Linked DNA regions of Homo sapiens: all the other regions are linked to region 2. The links are contacts of gene promoters, found by promoter capture Hi-C in human tissues and cell types (Jung and others, 2019). All regions are on one chromosome and are shown on one strand. Each heading gives the region's core, a stretch centred on a gene start or on the middle of the fragment in contact. The rest is flanking DNA. Distances are from core to core; before and after follow the strand shown. Region 1 overlaps SPG7 (SPG7 matrix AAA peptidase subunit, paraplegin). Region 2 holds the start of PIEZO1 (piezo type mechanosensitive ion channel component 1 (Er blood group)). Region 3 overlaps ANKRD11 (ankyrin repeat domain containing 11). Region 4 overlaps ANKRD11 (ankyrin repeat domain containing 11). Region 5 overlaps LOC101927863 (a long non-coding RNA gene).

Region 1 (2,700 bases), core at 102-2,601, 740 kb after region 2:
TCTCCCTGGCTTCGCTGCCTGGCGCTGCTTGCCACGCCTCCTTGCAGGCCTCCATGAAGAGTGAGTGAGCGCCCGCTGCTCCAGATCCCCTCTGTGCTGGCCCCAGGCCGGCCTTGAGTCGGTCTCTTGCTGTCTGCAGGGTGCACCTGTCCACCTCCCCTCGAGGTATCCCAATGTCTGGAGAACAGGGGCCGAATGTCTTTTCCATCCTCTGAGAGCTAAGCATAATGCCACCGTGTCTTCAGTAGGGTGTTAATAACTGAGGAAGGTAATTTAGAAGAATTCACCTGGTGCTTCTCATAAAGAGTTGGTCTCTGGGAAAATTCTAGAGTCAAGTGGTCTGGAGTATATGCCTTTAGACTCAACAGTGTATCTCATGATATTTTTAAGTTCTATTTTCAGATGTTGTGATAACCTACAACTTTCTGTTAAATGTTAGTCATTCTGATGAGTAAAAAGTTCAGAATGGTTGTTGGGTAGGGAGAGAGAAGGCACAAGGGTCTTCAGTGGGATTGGGAAGGTATTATTTCTTGAGGCAGGTTGTGGTAAAAGGTATTTGTTTTAATCGTTTTTAATAACTTTTGTGTATGTTTTGATATTTAGTATTTGATCAAACTCCAAGCAACTGGATTCATGGCCATTGTGAGCTTGCACTTTGCAGCAGGAGAGCTGACTGCATCTGTGACGGCTCGGACGGCCTGGGACGGTCGTTTCTTTTCTGAGACAGGGTCGTTCTCTGTCACCCAGGCTGGAGCACAGTGGCGCGATCACGGCTCACTGCAGCTTCAACCTCCCGCCTCAGCCTCCCAAGTAGCTGGGACCACAGGCGTGCACCGTTGTGCCCAGGTCTAAGTGTTTCGATTTAGAAATGGTTTCCTCTTAGGTGGGAACCACTCCTGCTCCTCACTGAAGTGACCTCAGCGAATGAAGTGTGGGTGACCTCGAACAGCACAGCGTTAGTCTTTGTCTCTGATAACGTCAGGGAAGAATTGGAGGAAGTGCAGGATCTTCTGTGCAGGACGCTGCCCCTCCCCGTCCAGCTGAGCTTTCCTGAGGAAGCTCTGGATGTCGCCCGTGTCTGTTGCTCATGTGTTTGTTTCTCCCTTTTGCTTCTCTGCCGGCTCAGAGGAGAGGAGACGCCGTGAGCGGGACGACCAGATGTACCGAGAGCGGCTGCGCACCTTGCTGGTCATCGCGGTTGTCATGAGCCTCCTGAATGCTCTCAGCACCAGCGGAGGCAGCATTTCCTGGAACGACTTTGTCCACGAGATGCTGGCCAAGGGCGAGGTGCAGCGCGTCCAGGTGGTGCCTGAGAGCGACGTGGTGGAAGTCTACCTGCACCCTGGAGCCGTGGTGTTTGGGCGGCCTGTGAGTGAGGGTGCGGGAGGCCTGTGAGTGAGGGTGTGGGCACAGGCTGGCAGCCTGTGAGAGTGAGGCTGTGGGCTCCTGTGAATGAGGGTGTGGGCGCTGGCTGTTGCCATCCTTTTGGATACCTGTGATTGAGGGCATGCTTCTTTCTCATGCAGGGACCTCAGCCCATTGATTTGCATTTATTTGGTTGCCTTTGTTTTTGTTTTTGTTTTTGAGACAGTCTCGCTCTGTTGGCCAGGCTGAAGCGCAGTGATGTGATCTTGGCTCACTGCAACATCTGCCTCCCGAGTTCAAGGGATTCTCCTGGCTCAGCCTCCCGGGTAGCTGGGATTACAGGCGTGCACCACAACGCCTGGCTAATTTTTGTAGTTCTAGTAGAGATGGGGTTTCTCCATGTTGGGCAAGGCTGGTCTCGAACTCCTGACCTCAGGTGATCTGCCCACCTTGACCTCCCAAAGTGCTGGGATTACAGGCGTGAGCCATCGTGCCCAGCCAGATCTGGTAACTTTAGATTCCAAGAGTGCGTCAGAACATGTGCTTGGAGCAATTTAACCCAGGGTAATGTGTGGACCAGTGATTAGGAAAGTGGTCTGGGGTTGGTGTGGCCCACCCCCGGGTCTGGAAATGACCGTGGCCTCCACCAGAGCTTCTGCCCCTTTGCTGGGTTACTCAGGATTCAGAATGCTTTTTCCTTTTCTTTTGCTTTTTTTTTTTTTTTTTGGAGACAGAGTCTCCCTCTGTCTCATCCAGGCTGAGATGCAGGGGTGTGTGTGATGTCGGCTCACTGCAGCCTTGATCTCCTGGGCTCAGGTGATCTACCCACCTCAGCCTCCCCTGTAGCTGGGATGGCAGGCGCGCACCACCACACTTGGCTAATTTTTAAATTTTTTGTTTTTTTGGAGAGATGAGGTCTCACTATATTGCCCAGGCTGGTCTTGAACTCCTGGCCTCAAGTGATCCTTACACCTTGGCCTTCCAAAGTGCCAGATCACAGGCGTCAGCCACCACGCCTGGCGCTGTCTTGCTATTTTTAAAAACAGGAAACCTTGTTCTTAAAATACACCATGGCTAAGTGCAGAAGACGGTGCTCATTCACGTAAATCCTCTGGTGGATGCCTGATTATTTCAGTCTGGAAGGTTATTTTAACCTACAACACTATGCTCAGCTCTAGACGAGTCACCTGATAAAACAGCTGCCTTAAAGAGAAAATGCTCAGAATTCTGTCTTAGCAGTTTGGGGTGTGAGTGAGGGAGCAGCAGGTGCCATCCCCACCCCTCATCCCTGTCCTCTGCTGGAGTTTCCAGTTAACCTCAAAGAGAGTCCCGCAA
Region 2 (2,700 bases), core at 126-2,625:
AGATCCCCAAAGCTAGCGCTGGGCGAGCTCCCACCTGGAGCGAGGCAAGGGCTCCGAAAGGGCTTTTACAATCAAAAGGCCCCACCTGCCGTGTCCATGGCGGACTCCCAATGCAAACCGTCCCACTTGTCCGTGGGTTAATTCCATCCGACTGCTTCCCAGATCAATCACACGTGGGGAGCCCCCGGGCGGAGGGCGCGGACCCTGGGTCCCGGCTAGGCCAGGGTCGGGGAAGGGTAGGGGTGCCAGGCCGTGCAGCACCAAGCCACCCGGGTGTGCTTCGCGAAAGGGGCACCACTGCCCGGCAAGCAGGGAACACAGATGCCAGGACTGGGGACCCCTGCCCCGCCCTGACACCAGGCCACAGCCTCCGGGGGTGTCCCCTCCCCCAGACCAGGGCAGAGGCCGGCCCCCGCCCCTGCGAAACTGAGCCCAGTAGGGCAAGGGAGGACCAGGGAGGAACCCACACTATTTTTTTCCAAAGTGTGGGACCGCCTCAGTCCGGCAGAGGGGGGTGCAGCGGTGAGCGGGGCTGGGCCCTGGGCACGGACGTTCGTTGGGCTCGGGAAGCTCCAAATTAAACAGCTCCAGGCAGGAAGCCCGCCTTCTCCCAGATTGTCAGGAAGTCCTGATGCAACTTTGCGCTTTTTTTTTTAAACCCGAAAGAGAAAAAGAGATTCGTGCTCCCCCCACCACCGCCGCGGCCCTTCCCACCGGGGCAAACACCGCCTCGCCCGGCGGCCTCCTCTCCGCAGCGCCCCGGCGGAGACGCCAGCCGCGCTATGCCCGGCGCTCGCTCGACCGCCCCCGTGGGCACGCGGTGCCGTCTCCCCCAGCCGCCGCCGCCCTTCCAGCCCGGCCCTGGGACAGGAGCCCCGCCGCCGCCTGGCGCGCTCATGCTTCAGGAATGCGGGCGCCCGGGTCGCGCGTCCCTGGGAATTTCCGCGCCCGCTCGCCCGCAGCCCTCGCCCCGGCCGGCGTCGTCCGGTGTCCAGGCCGTGGGGAGCCGAGACGCAGCCCCCTCCCGTCGCCCCCAGGCGCCCGCCCCCCACTCACCAGCCAGCAGCGCGCAGGGCAGCAGCAGCCAGTACAGGACCGCGCCGAGCACGTGCGGCTCCATGGCTGGAGGGCCCAGGGCCCGGCCCAGACCGAGCGGACGCCGCGGCGCTATGGGGCGGTGCGGGGGCCCCGGGGCCGGCGCGCCATGGCTGACCCGCGGGGACCCGCGCGCCGCCTTCTCCTCTTCCTCCTTCTCCTTCGGCCGCCCCGCCGGTGCCGACGTCCCGGGCCCGCGCTCGCTCAGGCGACCGCCCTGCCCCTCGGCGGAGCGCAGCGCTCGGCTCACTGGGGCCGAGCTGGGCCGGACGGCGGCTCCCGCCCTCCTCCGCCCGCGGGCCTTTATAAGCTCGGCCCCCTCCCGCCCTCCCCGGCGTGCCCGCCTCCGCGCTTCCCCGACGGCCCGGCGCGCCCAGGCACCCCCTCCGCTGTCCCGCGCGGCCCGTCCCGCCTCCGGCCCGCCCTGGTGCGTTGGGGCCTGGAGACCCCCGACTGGCGCTGGCCCGGAGCGGACCCCTCCCCTCCCGCAGTCTTGGCCCCGCGGCTCCGAGCGTGCGCGGCGGTGGGCAGGGGCGCTTCTCGCTGGGTGGGCTGCGGCTGGGGCCCGGGCGCTACATAAGGGGTCCCGGGGCCTCTGGCTCCCCCAGGCAGCGCCCCACGCGCAACTGCACCCCGCGTGCCCGAGCGACTTTCGCTTTGCTCCCCGAGGCGCGAGCACGCAGCGCCCCCTGGGGACCGTGGGGAGGCTCGGAGTTCCCGCGGCGGCCGGGCCTAGTGGTCCCGGAGGGAGCACGCGGGATGCTCGGGTCGCAGCAGTGCCGCGATCCGCGTTGGTCTGACGGGGGCTCGGGGGCTGCTCCCAGCCACGCCGGCCACCGCGCGCGGCTTTGCCCGGGTCGCTCTGGCGTGAGACGGTGAGAGTGAGAGCCACGGCCTGTGCACCTGCTGCCGCGGCGCCCTGCCACGGAGAGGTAGGGTCTGAGTCCAGGGTGTTCGGGACCCTCACCCAGGCCACGTCAGTTTGGCCTTCGTCTGCCCTTGAGATGGGCACAGAAAGAGGGCAAAGGGCTCTACACCGTTTAATTGGGCTCAGTTCATGGCTCTCAAACTCAGCTGCGTAAGGCAGGGAGTGGGGCTGGGGGGACTGTGGCCACTGAGCCTCAAGGCACTGGCAACTCATGAGAGCCCAGCACAAGCCCACACCCTCCAGCTCAAAAAAAAAAAAAAAAAAAAAAGATGGCGGGGCAGTGGCTCAGGCCTGTAATCCCAGCACTTTGCGGGGCTGAGGCAAGGGGGTAGGGGGTCGGGGGATCACTTGACGTCAGGAGTTCGAGACCAGCCTGGCCAACATGGTGAAACCCCGTCTCTACTAAAAATACAAAAATTAGGCCGGGCGCGGTGGCTCACGCCTGTAATCCCAGCACTTTGGGAGGCCGAGGCGGGTGGATCACCAGGTCAGGAGATCGAGACCATCCTGGCTAACACGGTGAAAACCCATCTCTACTAAAAACATAAAAAATTAGCCGGGCGTGGTGGCGGGCTCCTGTAGTCCCAACTACTCGGGAGGCTGAGGCAGGAGAATGGCATCAACCCAGGAGGCGGAGCTTGCAGTGAGCCGAGATAGCGCCACTGCACTCCAGCCTG
Region 3 (2,700 bases), core at 143-2,642, 700 kb after region 2:
AAAAAAAGAAAAAAAAAATCCTAACTTTTAAGATTTCCAACCAAATATTAATTAGGTATCTATTAATATGTGCATAGAAGTAACAGAAGATATAAAACAAAAACAAGTCCAAGATGAGCCTAACCATGTATTTGGGCAAACAGAATCCCCGTTCTTCTTTCTATACTCCTTCTAGCAGCAGGCTTCAACCTCCAAAATCTCTAACCCCCTTCTGTTTGGACCCAAAACCACTATCTTGGCCCACATTTTACACTGTCCTGACAAAATATCTGAGGGCAAATACCAGTCTGCCTTGGCCATTAAAGTCATTTAGGCAACACATCTGCCGAGCTGAGCAGAGCCAGCAGGTACCCATCTAACACAAGGCTCCGTCCTGGGCTGTGCCCCTCAAGAATTCCCCAGATAGCCATTTCCTTTCCTCAACTGAGATGCCCACTTCTCCCTCCAGAATGTGGGCAAATCACACCAGTGACGTCCACATCTGTCAAATGTCCCCAGGGCAGAGAATGGAGAGTGACACACAGTAGGCACAAAATAAACAGCACCCAGCTTCTGCCCCACCACCCCGTTCCCCATTCCTGCTTTCTTTTCTGTCTCCTTTGCTCTATCGTTTCACAAAGCCACTCTCCTAACTAATGTTTGCCCCATTCCCTCCACTGGGAATCAATTCATCTTCTCTTTTTCCAAGTCTTTTTAATGAATACCAGTTAACACCATGAAGTCTTCACAATTCACCTACACAGTGTGCTTTCGAGTCCCCTTCCCTATTTCAAGTTTCTCCAGGTTCTCTTGTAGGGATCTTCTTAAGGCTGCATGTGATGTCTTGTGCCTGTCATCCCAGCACTTTGGGAGGCTGAGGCAGGAGGACTACTTGAGGCCAGGAGTTCAACATCAGCCTAAGAAACATAGCGAAACCCCATTTCTACAAAGAATTTTTAAAAATTAGCGCACGTCTGTAGTTCTAGCCACTCATGACGTTGACGCAGGAGGCTCACTTGAGCCCAGAAGCTCAAGGATGCAGTGAGATATGGTCACGCCACTGCACTCCACCCTGAGTGACAGAGCAAGACCTTGTCTCAAAAAAAGAACCATTTAGGCACCATGGTGTTGCAAAGCCAGTGCTTTCATCTAGGCATCCACCGCCTGCAAACTCTGACACATCATCTTCTGCCTCAAAACAAGTAAGCAAATGAAATTCAGGTCTATCATTGCAAACCCTACACAACCCAACTCCAGTCATGCTTCCAGGTTAATCTGCTGTCATCTTCCATCTTCTTGGATGGGCTTTCGTGTTCAGACACGTCTGGCTGACATTCTCACGTTACATGCGGCCTTCCCAGCCTTTGTCCCCAGCCTTCCCGAAGTCGAAGATGCCCTTACTCTGATTTCTGCAGTGACATTCTACTGATTCTTTTTTTAAAACAGAAACATAGCTTACAGTTAAAAAAAAAAAAAATAGCACTTCTTCCCTTAAATCTCCCAGGTCACAGAGCCTTTCCCTCCTCTGATCTATGATCTCTCTTTTCATAAGAACCAATATTTAATGCAAGCTTTAGTCAACTAAATGCATCTTTCTCCCAGATCTCAGAACAGGAGGCCACAGCACTGCACCCAGTGAGCAGCCAATGAACATCTGTGAAGGAAATCAGTGAAACATCAGAAAAAGCAGAGTTTGTCTAGTTTCAGAAGTCCCTTCTATAAAACATGTAGCTCCTTCCAGCTAAAAGAAGACACAAAGCTGTTCTCCCACTGTAGAGCACACTGCACCCCATTTGGAAAAGCAGTCAGGTGAGCCACACGTCAGCCACACCGTGCTTTACAAACATGCCAATGTGTGAACGGTCAGTCACAAAGACATAAAAAAAGATGACTGCCCTCATCAAAACTGCCAAGGTCATGAAAAACAGGGAAACGCTGAGAAATGGTTGCAGACGAGATTAAGGAGACATGACAACTAAATGCAATGTGGGATCCCGGATGGCATCTGAGGACAGCAAGGGAACATTACTGGAAAAACCTCCAGCTTGCTCACCCCTGGAACCTGTGAATGCCTTAGGTTACGTGGAAAAGGGAACTGAGGTTACTAATCAGCAGAGAGGGAGATGACCTCGCAGTGCTCGGGTGGGCCCAATTTGTAACCACAAGGATCCAAAAGTGAAACAAGGGCCAGGCACAGTGGCTCCATGCCTGTAATTCCAGCACTGCTGGGGGGCTGAGGCGGGAGGATTGATTGAGCCCAGGAGGTCGACGCTGCAGTGAGCCTTGATTGTGCCACTGCACTCCAGCCTGGGCAACAGAGCCGAGACTCTCCAAAAAAGCGGGTGGGCAGCAGGAGTCAGAGAGATGCCATGAGGCTGGCTTTGAAGACTGAGGAAAGCACTACAGGCCGAATGCAGGCAGCCTCTGGAACACGGAAAAGACAAGAACACAGATTCTCCCCTGGAGCCTCCAGAAGGAACCAGCCCTACCTACCCAGATTTTAGCCCAGGCAGATCATGTTAGGCTTCTAATCAACAGAACTATAAAACAATAAATCTAAGGTTATGGTGGTTAGTTACAGCAGCGCTGGAAAACCAACACGGGCAGCACTGACACAAGTCCCAGCACTTCTCCAACGCCCAAGAGCTGTTCTCTGTCTCCCTTCCACACCCTCCATTTGCCTTCACTCATCCCCCTGAACCAATATATTTATGGGCTTAG
Region 4 (2,700 bases), core at 4-2,503, 510 kb after region 2:
CCCTCCTCAGCACCTGTCCCTCTTAGCTGGGGGGACAGTGTCTACCCTGATAGCCCAGTGTCCAGGAAGTGTGGCCCTCTCGAGGGGACAAGCTTTCCGTGGGGTCTGGGCCCAAAGCCCCTTCCTCTACCTCCCTGGGAGGTCTGAAGCTGGGCTCCAAGGCAGAGACCCTGAGGTTGGGCCCCAGGGACGTGGAGGTGTGTGGCCTCAGCTGCTCATCTGAACAAATGCCTTTTGTATCAATCATTTAGCACCTCTAATTTCTAGGCTTTTCTAGCAAGAGTCTTTTAGGAGACACAGGCCACGATACTGTCAACATAGGAAAATGTGCAACTCCTGCGTCCCACCGTAAAACTCGAAGACGTCAAAATACATTCTTGATTCTGCTCCACAAAGGGATGTTTCCATGGCGATATTTTCAAACAACAGAAAGTTCACGGCCGATGGCGGTTACAGCTCATGGAACTGATGGGCAGGGCCGGGTGCAGCTTTGTAGCACGGCTGCTGCTCACAGATTCTCTTCCATTTGACTAAAAACCATGCTGTCCACACCAAACATCTGGCCTCATCCGGATGTTCAAAGCCATGAAATACAGCACTTCTGGCCAAGAAGTCTAAATCACAGCCGATCTACACGAGGCGGATGGTCCACAACGCCAAGTTCCTACCCGGGCACTGAGCTCAACGCTCGCACAACTCCAAACGAGGGCGCAACCATATTCCCACTGACATCCTCCTTGGGGCAGCAAGACAAGCTCCGAACAGCCTGTCCTGGGCCAACAAGAGAAGCTGGCGGGCGCCCGCTGAGCACTGTGAGCCATCTTGTGGTGAGACTGGCTTCTCCTTCCAATCTCCAGGTTTCTCTCTCTTTCTGCCTTCTTTCTGTCAGTTACCGTCATTGATCACTTAAAGAAAGACAGGGCCTACCCCTGTCTGCTGCGTGACCTCAGCCCTCCCGCCTGCCGATGGGAGCTGGGTCATCTCTTACGCCTTTCAGCTTTGGCTTCTTCCGCAGTGTATGTGAAGGGGTCACACAGAGGTAAGGCTGTGCGTCCAGCCCTTGCCTGCACAACCTCCATGCCTTCCCCATCTCCAGGCCGGGGTGGGGTAGGGGTAGGGTGGGGTGGGGCGGAAGGACCAGTTCCACAGGAAGCCTGTGGAGGCAAACAGGGTTATGTGGCAAGGGTGGGAAGGAGCAGGGCCTGAGCCCCATGGTGGTTTCACCAGCATCCAGCGGTCACCATGGTGAACAAGAAGCCAGGAAGGAAGGAAGCAATGTCGGCAAAAGGGCTCAGATGACAACCAAACAGAACGGTTTCCCACCCTGGGCCTCCTTTCCACACACACAGCATCGTGGGTATTTTAAAATAAACAAGATCAACGTCCAAACCTGCGCTGAGGCCTGAGCTGTGTCCGTCACTCCTGCAGGGCACAGGCCTGCCTGGCCGAATGCATGGGCGGTGAGAGCACAGGGCTGGGGGGACCCCTCTGTCGAGGGGCCACAGCTCCTCACACAGCAGAGCTTTATGGATGAAAGGGCTGAGAGGCACAGACAGGCTGAGAAATGGGCCCAAAGTCCCACAGCATGGAGCCAGGAGGTAGCAGACGGCCCCTGCCCGCCCCCCTCACTTGGCTGACTGCTCCCACGGCAGCCACCACCTTTATCCTGAGTCCCGGGGTCCTCCATCAAATCGCTGAGCCTCGGGTGGTCTTGTGGACCCCAGCTTGTCTGTGTTGTGTTGACAACATGGGCCTGGCTACCGGCCTAAGTGCACTTCTGAGGGGTGTCAGGGAAGCCTTTGCTGCGGCTTGGGGATTACAGAATTTTAAACAGCAAGAACCTTCCCTTTGCTAGTCCAAGCTTCCCTTTGTATGAGAAACTGCTTACGTCTAGAGAGGAAAAATGGTTGAGAAATAGGAGGACCAGAGACCAATCACGCGGAGTTCTTAATCATGTGAAAATATTTTATTTTGACGTGCTTTTTCTTGAGTGCCTGAATGTGGTGGCTCTTAGGGTAACCCCAGAATCCTCACTGCGGCAACAAGACCTGGCCACCACCCTCACCTCGACCACCACGGCCTTCGCTGCAGCCCCACTCTGACTCCCCGGGGGCTGCTCACGTGCCAGCACCCACTGGCCAAGCATCCTCCGGCAGGACCCAAGTCCTCTGTATTCAGAGGCCGACCCTGCTTTCCAGAGACTCACGAGGTGGCAGAGAGTCAGGCTGTGGCAGGGGCCCCTGTGTATCGAGGAGAGGAGGAAGAGTCTGCAGAGGTTTCTAGGGAAGGAGATAGTGTGGAAGTGACTGTGGCTCTGGTCCTGCCTGGGAGGAGATCTACAGGGGAGGGGCCTGGCCTTGGGCTGGCCCTGCCCTGCGTGGGATCTGTGCCCTGCGTGGGATCCCTGCCCTGTGTGGGGTGCGTGGGGTCTGTGCCCTGTGTGGGGTGCCTGCCCTGTGTGGGGTGTGTGGGGTCTGTGCCCTGTGTGGGGTGCCTGCCCTGTGTGGGATGCATGGGGTCTGTGCCCTGTGTGAGGTGCCTGCCCTGTGTGGGGTGTGTGGGGTCTGTGCCCTGTGTGGGGTGCGTGGGGTCTGTGCCCTGTGTGGGGTGCTTGGGGTCTGTGCCCTGTGTGAGCTGCCTGCCCCGTGTGGGGTGCGTGGGGTCTGTGCCCTGTGTGGGGTGCCTGCCCTGTGTGGGATG
Region 5 (2,700 bases), core at 75-2,574, 720 kb after region 2:
AAGCCTAGATTTTTTTTTTTTTTTTTTTGAGACAGTCTTGGCCTGGCGCGATGGCTCATGCCTGTCATCCCAGCTACTCGAGAGGCTAAGGCAGGAGAATCGCTTGAAGCTGGGAGGCAGAGGCTGCAGTGAGCTGAGATCGCACCACTGTACTTCAGCCTGGGCAACAGAGTGAGACCTTGTCTCATAAAAAAAAAGACAGGGTCTCACTCATCACTGAGGCTGGAGTGCAGTGGCAAGATCTTAACTCACTGCAGCCTCCACCTCCCAGGTTCAAGCGATTCTCATGCCTCAGCCTCTCGAGTAGCTGGAACTACAGGCATGTTGCCACCGTGCCTGGCTAATTTTTTTGTATTTTTAGTAGAAAGAGAGTTTCGCCGTGTTGGCTAGGCTGGTCTTGAACTCCTGACCTCAAGTGATCCACCTGCCTTGCCCTCCCAAAGTGCTGGGATTACAGGCGTGGGACATAGCACCCAGCCAGAAGCCTAGATCTTTTTTTTTTTTTTTCAGATGGAGTCTCTGCCTCCCAGATTCAATCGATTCTCCTGCCTCAGCCTCCCAAGTAGCTGGGATTACAGGCACCTGCCACCGTGCCCGGCTAATTTTTTCTATTTTTAGTAGAGACTGGGTTTTACCATGTTAGCCAGGATGGTCTCATCTCCTGATGATCTCGTGATCCACCGGTCTCGGCCTCTCAAAGTGCTGGGATTACAGGCATGAGCCACCGCCCCAGCCAGCCTAGATCTTAAAATCAAAAAAAGTCCCAAAGATCAACTTCTGTCTCTGGAATGTTAAACGTTACTGTTTGATAGATGAGGCAACTGAAGTTTGTAGAGCACCTTGCCTGAAGCTTCAGCCCACAGCAGGAATAAGGGACAGAGCCTAGAATGCTTCTGCATCAACAGGGAACAAAGGCATGGGGTCTCCTCTCTGTCCACCTTCCCTTCCCACAGCCCAGGCTGAAAGGGCTGCCCTAGGCGCTCCTGAGGCCTCCTCTCTTATGGGGCTAGAGCTGAGGGAACCTGGGGTTGGTAGCCATCCAGAGACCTAAGGCGTGCCCTGACCCAAACCAGGAGTCACCAAGAGACTGCCTCTAGAGAATAGGCGGGGAAGGGAAGTCACACCAAGTCCAAGCGCAGAGTTCAGAGGGCTGAGGAGGGGTGACGCGGAAGTACAAATGAGTAAGCAGCAGTTAGGAAGTGTGCCAAGTCCTGACGTGCAGAGTTCAGAGGGCTGAGGAGGGGTGACACGGAAGCACAAATGAGCAAGCAGCAGTTAGGCAGTGCAGGAAGAACACACAGGCGGAGAAGGGAAAGCGAACGTCCTGCTCTGCTGCAGGCTATGAGGGCAAAGGCAGACCCGGGAGCCCACTGTCCTACAGATCCTTCTTCTTGAATCCAAATCATGCAGCAAAATAAAAACAAAACCCCCAAACCATGGGGCACCCGAATCCTTAAACAAAACCCCTACTGCTTGAGGCTACGTGAGCCTCTGCTGCTGCCGCCACTACAGCAGGGGCTGAAGCTGAGAGCTGAGAGTCACGGTTCACCTGTAGGGCCTGGGATGCAGCCAGCCTTCAAAGCACGGTTGTTAGAGATGAGTTTGAATAAATGCATAAATACTCTGTTCCCATATCCTCATTTCCCATGACGTCCCAGTAATAACTCTGGATGCCAAGGCTTCCTGGCTCGTCAGTTGCCCTCACACACATTTATTGCATTTTATCTTCATAACCACCCTGTGGGAAACCCAAGGCTGATATTAGCCTTGCTTTGCAGATAATTATCATCCCCATTTTACCGCTGAGAAGATTGAGGCTTGAGGAAGCTAATAACTTGCTTAAGGTCATAGGCCAGAGGAGACAGAACCCAGTGTTCTTTCCCCAGAGGAGGCCTCTTGCCAACACCCCACACTGCTTCTGATGAATTGCCAGGAAACAATTTTAACTTATCTCAAACAATATTAATAGGACTACACTTAAACTCCTCCCAAACACATCCAAATGTGTGCCCTCACCCTCTCTCCAGCCTTGTCCCGTGACCAACCCAACCAAACTTCCGAAAGGGTTTTTTGTGTTCTAGGAAGTGACCGAGCCCCACAACCCTTTATGCCTGTGCGTTCAGAGGATTTGTGACCTTTTTTTTTTTTTTTGAGATGGAGTCTCGCTCTGTCGCCCAGGCTGGAGTGCAGTGGCGGGATCTCGGCTCACTGCAAGCTCCGCCTCCCGGGTTCACGCCATTCTCCTGCCTCAGCCTCCCGAGTAGCTGGGACTACAGGCGCCCGCCACAGCGCCCGGCTAATTTTTCGTATTTTTAGTAGAGACGGGGTTTCGCCGTGTTAGCCAGGATGGTCTCGATCTCCTGACCTCGTGGTCCGCCCGCCTTGGCCTCCCAAAGTGCTGGGATGAAGGGCAGGGAGAGGGAGGGGGAGGGCACCGCGCCCGGCCCACCTGGTGTCTTTCAATCAGGGAAAGAAAAAATAGTGGAGGAGGAAACGGCAAGGTTGGATTCACTGCGAAGGCTGACTGTACAATAAGAAGCAAAAGGAAAAGCGGTTCAGTTGTGAAAATCAGTGTCAGCCCTGGGTGTAGGGGAAGGTCCTCTCCACAAACCAACAGAACACCTCCCCAGCCCCGAGCACCTCTGCCGAGGCACCCGGCCCACTGGAGGGCTGAGGGCGGATAACCACGATAACTGAAAA

What was found. The method cuts DNA at HindIII sites, captures the fragments that hold promoters and counts their contacts. A contact is called where the count stands out against the background at its distance.
Region 1: a contact is called between a fragment that was not itself captured here and the fragment with the promoter of PIEZO1 in region 2, in 1 of the 25 tissues and cell types used here (lymphoblastoid cells).
Region 3: a contact is called between a fragment that was not itself captured here and the fragment with the promoter of PIEZO1 in region 2, in 3 of the 25 tissues and cell types used here (dorsolateral prefrontal cortex, lymphoblastoid cells and thymus).
Region 4: a contact is called between a fragment that was not itself captured here and the fragment with the promoter of PIEZO1 in region 2, in 2 of the 25 tissues and cell types used here (lymphoblastoid cells and spleen).
Region 5: a contact is called between a fragment that was not itself captured here and the fragment with the promoter of PIEZO1 in region 2, in 1 of the 25 tissues and cell types used here (lymphoblastoid cells).

What each region holds. Positions count from the first base shown.
Region 1 is chr16:89,522,880-89,525,579 of GRCh38, forward strand. SPG7 (SPG7 matrix AAA peptidase subunit, paraplegin) reads left to right here. Exons shown (of 17, transcript NM_003119.4): 4 at 1,127-1,368. Among named protein-coding and RNA genes, the nearest start is that of SPG7, 16 kb to the left of the region's middle. RefSeq lists enhancers at 1-321, 2,642-2,700. The HindIII fragment of the contact is 5,277 bases long and covers 1-2,700 here.
Region 2 is chr16:88,783,845-88,786,544 of GRCh38, forward strand. It overlaps PIEZO1 (piezo type mechanosensitive ion channel component 1 (Er blood group)), which reads right to left and starts at 1,376. Exons shown (of 51, transcript NM_001142864.4): 1 at 1,057-1,376. The coding sequence starts at 1,120. RefSeq lists silencers at 205-524, 1,025-1,504, 1,545-1,874 and an enhancer at 607-1,520. The HindIII fragment of the contact is 3,328 bases long and covers 1-1,569 here.
Region 3 is chr16:89,480,479-89,483,178 of GRCh38, forward strand. All of the region lies in intron 1 of ANKRD11 (ankyrin repeat domain containing 11), which reads right to left. Among named protein-coding and RNA genes, the nearest start is that of ANKRD11, 8.7 kb to the right of the region's middle. The HindIII fragment of the contact is 7,186 bases long and covers 1-2,700 here.
Region 4 is chr16:89,296,924-89,299,623 of GRCh38, forward strand. All of the region lies in intron 4 of ANKRD11 (ankyrin repeat domain containing 11), which reads right to left. LOC124903757 (keratin-associated protein 5-2-like) reads left to right here. Exons shown (of 2, transcript XM_047435030.1): 2 at 268-2,700. The coding sequence starts at 2,509. LOC105371414 (a long non-coding RNA gene) reads left to right here. Exons shown (of 3, transcript NR_136339.1): 2 at 268-1,039; 3 at 1,228-1,394. Among named protein-coding and RNA genes, the nearest start is that of ZNF778, 81 kb to the left of the region's middle. The HindIII fragment of the contact is 5,021 bases long and covers 1-2,700 here.
Region 5 is chr16:89,504,410-89,507,109 of GRCh38, forward strand. LOC101927863 (a long non-coding RNA gene) reads right to left here. Exons shown (of 5, transcript NR_188547.1): 2 at 1,550-1,738; 3 at 636-744. Among named protein-coding and RNA genes, the nearest start is that of SPG7, 2.6 kb to the right of the region's middle. RefSeq lists an enhancer at 1,439-1,488. The HindIII fragment of the contact is 3,703 bases long and covers 1-2,700 here.